Regions from separate parts of the Homo sapiens genome. Here region 2 is linked to region 1. The links are contacts of gene promoters, found by promoter capture Hi-C in human tissues and cell types (Jung and others, 2019). All regions are on one chromosome and are shown on one strand. The core of a region is centred on a gene start or on the middle of the fragment in contact, and the rest is flanking DNA. Distances in the headings are between cores, read along the strand shown. Region 1 holds the start of CCBE1 (collagen and calcium binding EGF domains 1). Region 2 has its middle 240 kb from the start of CDH20.

Evidence for each region. Contacts are between HindIII fragments. The study calls those that stand out against the background at their distance.
Region 2: a contact is called between a fragment that was not itself captured here and the fragment with the promoter of CCBE1 in region 1, in 1 of the 25 tissues and cell types used here (lymphoblastoid cells).

Annotation. Positions count from the first base shown.
Region 1 is chr18:59,695,460-59,699,276 of GRCh38, forward strand. It overlaps CCBE1 (collagen and calcium binding EGF domains 1), which reads right to left and starts at 1,964. Exons shown (of 11, transcript NM_133459.4): 1 at 1,753-1,964; 2 at 1,170-1,250. The coding sequence starts at 1,883. The HindIII fragment of the contact is 11,314 bases long and covers 1-3,817 here.
Region 2 is chr18:61,088,167-61,091,983 of GRCh38, forward strand. No RefSeq gene overlaps it. Among named protein-coding and RNA genes, the nearest start is that of CDH20, 240 kb to the right of the region's middle. The HindIII fragment of the contact is 6,944 bases long and covers 1-3,817 here.

The DNA of each region.
Region 1 (3,817 bases), core at 714-3,213:
TTCCTAAGCCCAAGGAGTGACTTGATTTGCCTGATTATTGTCCCTTCACTGCCAACAACAGATTTAAGAGCAGAAGTACGCGATGTAACTGATGGTGCTTTTGCACCCATAAACTGACAGCCGTGGAACCACTTGGTCTGAACCTTTGGGTATATGAAATGCTCTCACCTGCAAGAAACGCTATGATTGATTCACAGGCTACAACCTTATAAGGAATAAAACATTGTTTTCTTTCAAGTTCGTTTCTAGGGACTGCTGCGTTACCTTGTACTACTCAGTATTTATCCTGGCAACCCGAACAGAGCATGTGAGTCTCCAGAGACAGTCAGGTGTGGGCATATGATCACATTACCTTGTACAGCGCCTCTAAAACGCAGATATCCAATAAACGTTTATGGGTGCATGTTCCCCTATCCAGTGAGAGCACTGGAACAGAACCAAGAATTCAATGGTGAAAAACCTAAATCAACCCTCATCTCCAAAAGGCTGCAAGCAGAACAGTGGTTCTCTCCTTTCAGAGACAAGAACCACCTGGGGAACATTTTATAACTACCGATTCCCTAGCCCCATCCACGCTTAGTTTTAACAAGCACCCGGGTCACTCATTTAACAAATACCCAGGTGAATCTGTGGCCCACATTTTTAGAAAGACTTTTTTCCTCTGCCCCAACAATCTTTTTGTTTTCACTCAACACAACCACTCACAATCCTCCCCCTACTTTTTTGTCCAGAGGCCGTGACAGCCACACTCTGCCCCAACAGAAGGTCAGAAGACAGACAAGTGCCAAGAATTGCCTTGTTGACGCTGTACTTTCAAAACAAAACACAAATACGAAAGCAGCCACCCGTGTTTGCTATGCCCCACTGTTTACACCCAAAATCCAATCCAATCTCCTTCACAGACTTCCACACAAGTATTTCAGGGAGCGGCAACCATCCTCAGGATCTCAGGGCACACACCCTAGACGCAAAGTCAGTTGCTCAGTGTTGCTCTGACTCCGATCCAACCAACCCTCAAAGATTCGCACCGCGCGGCACGCACCCAGCAGGTTCCAGCGTAAAAGCTGCTCCGGTCCCAAGCGCGTCTCCAAACCCCTCCTTTACAGCGCCGCCTCCCCAGCCAGCCCCGGTGCGCAGTGGCGAACAGCCCGCAGAGCCCCCAGGCTTACCTGTAGCATGTGGTGAGCTCGCCTGAAGACTTCAGACACGGGTATTTAGTCGTCGCGATTTTGCTCTCTGAGCAGATTTCTCTATGAAAAAGTGCAGAGGAAATGTTCGATTCTCAGCGGGAGAGCGGAGGCGGGCAGCGCGCGCTGGGGAATCCCTGGCGCGTGGGGATCGCCAGGCTCCCCGTCCCGGCGCTCTGGGCAGGGGCTGGTCCCCAAACGCGTACGCGGGGCAGACTCCGGCCACAGGGACGAGCCACGCGAGGGTCACGACGAAGCGAACCAGCTCCAGGAGAAAGGAAGCGGGGTTCACGAGCTGTGCCAGCCAGTGTGGCACCCGGGGGGAGGCAGGAACGCGGGGCGAAGGGTATCCCTGACGCGACCCACGGATGGCAGGGCGCAAAGGCTGATACCCGGGAGCGGAGGGAAGTGTCGCCCAGGACAGCTGAGCACTCTCCTTATCCCCGGAGAAGTGAGGGCGTGCGGATCGCTGTGGGAGTGGGCGCCGGGGAGGACCGCCCGCACCCCGCGAGCCGGGCGCGCATCAAGCAGGAGCTCGCCCTCCGCTGGGGCTTGCAGCGCTTACCTGTCGCCGTCCTCCGGCTCCTCTCTGTAGGTCCACGTGTGTCCCAACGCCAGGAGCAGCAGCAGCGGACCCAGGCTCCTGCCCAGCTGGCCCCTGGCAGCTCCTCCCCGGCTCGGAGGCGGCGGCACCATCAGGGAAGCTCCCGGCTTCTTCCCAGCGCCGAGCTCCGTCCGGACCAAGCGTCCTGCTCCTCCGCGGCCGCCGCCGCCTTCCCTCTTCCCGGCAGGGGGCGCCGGAGAGCAGGGGCGTTTGCACCACCTGCACGGGGAGCAGGGGTCCGGAATATTATGGGGCTGGGGGGAAAATGAGGCTAGGAGTTGGGGTATCGGATGCAAACCCAGCAGAGAAGCAGGTAAAGGGGGTACCTGCGGTGTCCGGCTGGCGCGAGGGCCCTGAGGTTCAAGTTGTCTCGTCGGGACGTTCACGTCCGATTGACAGACTTGCTGGACTCGGCTTGGGGCTGCGCCCTCGCCTCTTCCCTCTCCCTCCTCTGGGAGAAGCGCGCAGGGTGGGGAAAGCGGGCGGTTGTTTGCATTTTGCACCAGGGTCTCACGACCGGGAGGAGGAGGAGCTGATTCTCCACCGGGGAGAAGAGGGAGGGGGAAGAGAGGGGTTAATAAGCTTCCTTCCTGTTGTCCATGGGTTTCTAAAGCCCAGGGTCAGGCCAGTGTTCGTCTTTCCTCCGTGAGGACCTACCCTGAGATTTGCAACTATCTTAGTCTTCTTTTCTCTTAGATTATGTGAGGAAGGAGGAGTTGAAAGGCTACAACGGGCCTCTCAAATTGTTCAAACCTGAAATAGCGCTATTTATATAGTGTAATCACTCTTCCTTAAAACCTTTAGAAGAAAGTTCTCTGGTTGTTTCATTGGTCAATAAACCATGCGCTGTCTTCTTCATAACTCGAGTTCGGAACAAGTAAGGAGGTCTTTCTGGGAGCCTTACATCTCCTTGTCCTGAGCGGCTTTAATACTGTTTCCACGCCGCGCACATCAGAGCTGGAAACGCCCCCCCCCATCAAATGAGACACGTGGGGGCAAATTAATTACAGGTGCTGCTACCTGCTAGTGTATGCAGCCGCGTTGATAGGTAACAAGAAAACGGAGGAGGGGGGCCGTAAATCGGCTCCCTTGACGGTGACCCTAATTGTAATTCGTGTGTCAGCAACTTAACACTTTGTTGCGCTTTAGGAGTTTTCTCAGCCTTTTCCAGAGAAACTGGGGACGTGGATGTGGCCCAGAAATAAGTTGAAAAAGGAAAAGTTCTAATGCCTAAGCTCTAAAATATGCGTGGTTCTGCATCTCACAGGACAACGAGGTAAAAAGGTGGCTTGTTCACAAGTGACCGGTGTGTAAATTGGTTAGGTAAGCACATATTTTGATATACAGAATATGCTGGTCAACTGAGAATTACCACACATATCACATACACATTGACTTTTTTTTTTTTTTGAGACGGAGTCTCACTCTGTCGCCCAGGCTGGAGTGCAGTGTCTCGATCTTGGCTCACTGCAACCTCCGCCTGCCGGGTTCAAGAGATTCTTCTGCCTCAGCACCCCAAGTAGCAGGGATTACAGATGCATGCTTCCACACCCGGCTAATTTTTGTATTTTTAGTAGAGACAGAGTTTCACCATGTTGGCCAGGCTGCTCTTAAACTCCTGGCCTCAAGTGATCTGCCCAACTCGGCCTCCCAAAGTGCTGGGATTACAGGCGTGAGCCATAGCAGCCAGCCCACACTGATATTTTTGATAGCAATGACATTGTCATTCTTCCGTAGAATGCTATGTCTTTTCCTAAGATTTTTCATATTCAAGATTTTATTTGGTTCCCACAATATCCCTTCAATCTGAGCATCTGATTTCTTAGTTCTGTGAGGTGTGTTTTTTGTTGGCTTATTTTACAAAACTTACATATTCGGAAGACCACCCACTTGATATTAAAATATGACACTGCTACTTAACACAAATGAGTTAATTTTTATTTGATAATTCAGAAGACATTTCAGGATGTTGCAAAACTGGAGAGTGATCATCATGAGGTCAGAAAAAAAAAACCATGAGGTCAGA
Region 2 (3,817 bases), core at 573-3,072, 1.4 Mb after region 1:
GTCTATGGTGAGTGACTCCTTGTTAGCCTGATTCTCCTCTAGACTGTAAGTTTCTCACCTGTCATTTTCACACTTGCATCACCTCCACCTGGTACATAGTCTGGACATCATTATGTTGTCCATTGGATAATCAGATTATTTGATCAGATAATCGCCTACCCTCCCAGTAGTTTTGATGATAAAAGGAAAGCGAATAATAGGTAAACTCAGGAAGAAACTTGCAGCTGCTAGTATCTGAGCATCTGACAAGATAAGCATGAGGGTTGGCAGGAAGGGGAGACTTATTGGAGTGGAGAAGATATAGGGTGCAATGATAAAATCCATTATGTACCATTTTTCTGTGGTTACCTTGACTCACAGGCCAATATTCTCCACACATAGTGCAGCCGCCCAAGTGTGGAGCGGAGAAAACGTTTTCTCTCCCAGTGTTCCAAATCTGTCCTTCCTTGTCTGAAACTCTCCCACTTTGTGACAGCAATCCTCCGCTGCCCCTGATGCTTTAGGTCTACACACAACTCGGAGTCAGACAACTTGGGTTCATGTCTTGGTTCTGCAACCGGCTAAAAGCCAACATGTGCAAATCACTATAAAAATGAAGGCTACATGGGATAATCTCTAAGGTTACCCACAATTCTGACATTCTACATAGATGCTTACCTATCCCCTCAAACGTGAAGGCCTGGGAAACATGTGTCTGAAGTTCCAAAAGTCACCAGCAGATGGCCCACATTCTCAGTTTTGGCTTAGATCCAAATAAGATGGAGAGAGAGAGAGAGAGAGAGAGAGAGAGAGAGAGAGAGTGTGTGTGTGTGTGTGTGTGTGTGTGTGTGTGTGTGTGTGTGTATCAGTTTCAGATTCAAGTAATGACATTTGACATTCAGAATTAAATAATGAGGTGAAGGTGCCTCATTCTCAGAAAATGTTTAGTCAGCCCGCACAATAACTCCATACTCCCTACTCTCCAGCTAAGGAAGTCTTGGTGCAGAGGGATTATGAAATTCAGGTTTCCCCAGAAGTTAAAGATCAGCCTGGGCAACATAGGGAGACCTTCGTCTCTACAAATAATATGAAAAATAATATGAAAAATAGCATATGTCTGGGTCCCAGCTACTAGGGAGGCTGAGATGGGAGGATGGTTTGAGCCTGGGAGTTTGAGGCTGCAGTGAGCTATGTTTGCACCACTGCACTCCAGCCTGGAAGACAGAGTAAGATCCTGTCAGAGGAAAGAAAAAGAAAGAATGAGGAGAAATAAGAAGGAAGAAAGAAGGAAGGGAAAGAAAGAAAATAAATGTAGGCTTCAGAGCTACTCAGTGTTTAAGTCAGGATTTGAAACTAATATTCTAACATATTAGAGAGTTTCTTTAGCACCTCCAATATACTATAACCCTCCTCTTAGACAACATTTAAATAAATATCACATATTAAAAACCATAACTTATGTGACTTACTTTTAATAGACATTTAAAATAGAAACAATTGCCCTTTTAAAGCTAATTCTCATTACACTATGTAACATTTTTTCATCCATATGTTATCTTGGTATTACCCTACCTGCTGCCTCACCACCATCTCCACCATACACACTGCTTAAATATAAAGGGAAAGGAACTATACAAGAGTGACTTAACAGATTAGTGCTGATACTCTTCTGTCTCTTCTTTAGAAGTTTCTTGTAGTCTACACCAGAATGTCATTGATATAGTATATTAGTATAGAATAGCACTTAAATTACCCCAAAGTGGATTTTCTAATAGGTGATGAGATAGAATAAACTTGTTTTTTTTAAAAATGCTATTTTTTAGAGTAGTTCATAACGAAATTGAAAGGTTGGTATGGGGATATCTCATCTATCCCCTACCCTCCTACATGTACAGCTTCCCCCATTATCAACATCCCCAACCAAAGTGCTAGATTTGTTACAATTGATGCATCTACACTGACACATCACAATTACCCAAAGTCCATGGTTTACATTAGGGTTTGCTCGTGGTGGTGTACATTCTATGGGTCTGGACAAATGTATAATGACATGTATGCACCAGTCTAGCATCATACAGAGTATTTTCACTGCCCTGAAAATCCTCTGTTCTCAGCCTATTCATCTTTCCTTTCCGCCAACCCCTGACAACCACTGATCTTTTTACCCTCTCCACAGTTTTTCCAGGACGTCATATAGTTGGAATCATACAGTATCTAGCCTTTTCACGTTGACTTCTTTCACTTAGTAATACGCATTATTAAGTTTACTCCATATATTTTTATGGCTTGGTTGCTCATTTCTTTTTAACACTAAATAACATTGATTGTTTGGATGTATCACAGTTTATTTATTCATTCACGTGCTGAAGGACACCTTGGTTGCTTCCAATTTTTGGCAATTATGAATAAAGCTGCTATAAATATTTATGTGCAGGTTTTTGTGTAGACATGTTTTCAACTTCTTGGCATAAACACCAAGGAGTATGATTACTGGATCTTTTGGCAAGAGTATGCTAGTTTTGTAAGAAACTGCCAAACTGTTTTCAAAAGTGACCGTGTCATTTTTCATTTCCACCAGTGACGAATAAGAGTTCTTGATGCTCCACATTCTCGCCAACATTTGATGTTGTCAATGTTTTCAATTTTCCCATTCTAATAGGCCATATCTTATTGTTGATTTAATTTGCATTTCCCTGATGACATACGATGTGAAGCATTTTTTCTTATTTTTTTTTTGCCATATGTTTATCTTCTTTGGTGAGGTATTTTTTTTTAACATCTTTGGACCATTTTTTAAGCAGGTTGTTTGTTTTCTTATTGTTGAGTTTTAAGACTACTTAGTATATTTTGGATACAGTCCCTTATTAGATAGGGTTTTTCAAACATTTTCTCCAAGTCTGTGTATTGTCTTTTCATTCTCTTGACAGTGTCTCTTGCAAAACAGAAAATGTTAATTTTAATTAAATCTTGCTTACCAATTCTTTCATTCATGGGTTGTGTCTTTGATGTCATATCTATAAGCTATTGCCAAAATCAAGGTCGTCTAGATTTTGTCCTATGTTATCTCCTGGGATTTTTATAGTTTTGCATTTTACATTTAGGTCTGCAATCAATTTTGAGCTAACTTTTGTGAGGGATTTAAGTTCTGTGTTTACATTCTTTTTTTTTGCATATGGATATACTGTTTTTTTCAGCACTATTTGTTGAAAAGACTGTCTTTGCTTCACTGCATCGCCTTTATTTCTTTGTCAAAGAACAGTTGACCATATACATGTAACCACTAAGCATGTTAGCTGTAAATTTTATATAGATATCCTTTATCAAGTTGATGAGTTCCCTTTTATTTGAAATATACTGAAAAATTTTATCATAAATGAGTGTTAGATTTTGTCAAATGCTTTTTTGTGTCTATTGACATGATCACGTGATTTAACTTCTTTAAGCTGTTGATGTGAAGGGTTATATTAATTAGTTTTCTAATGTTAAACCAGCTTTGCATGCCTGAGATAAATTTTACTCATAGTATATATTGTTTTTATACATTGTTGAATTCTGTTTGCTAATATTTTGTTGAGGATTTGACATCTATATTCATGAGAGATAGTGGTCTGTAGTGTTATTTTATTGTAACACCTTTGTCTTTGTCTGTTTTGGTATCAGGGTAATGCTGGCCTAATATAATGAGTTAGCAAATATTAACTCTGCTTCTATCTTCTCAAAGAGATTATAGAGCACTGATAGATTTTCTTCCTGAAATGTCTGGTGGAATTCACCATTGAGTATGTAGGGTCCTGTTGCTTTCCATTTTGAAAGGTTATTAATTATTGATTCAATTTCT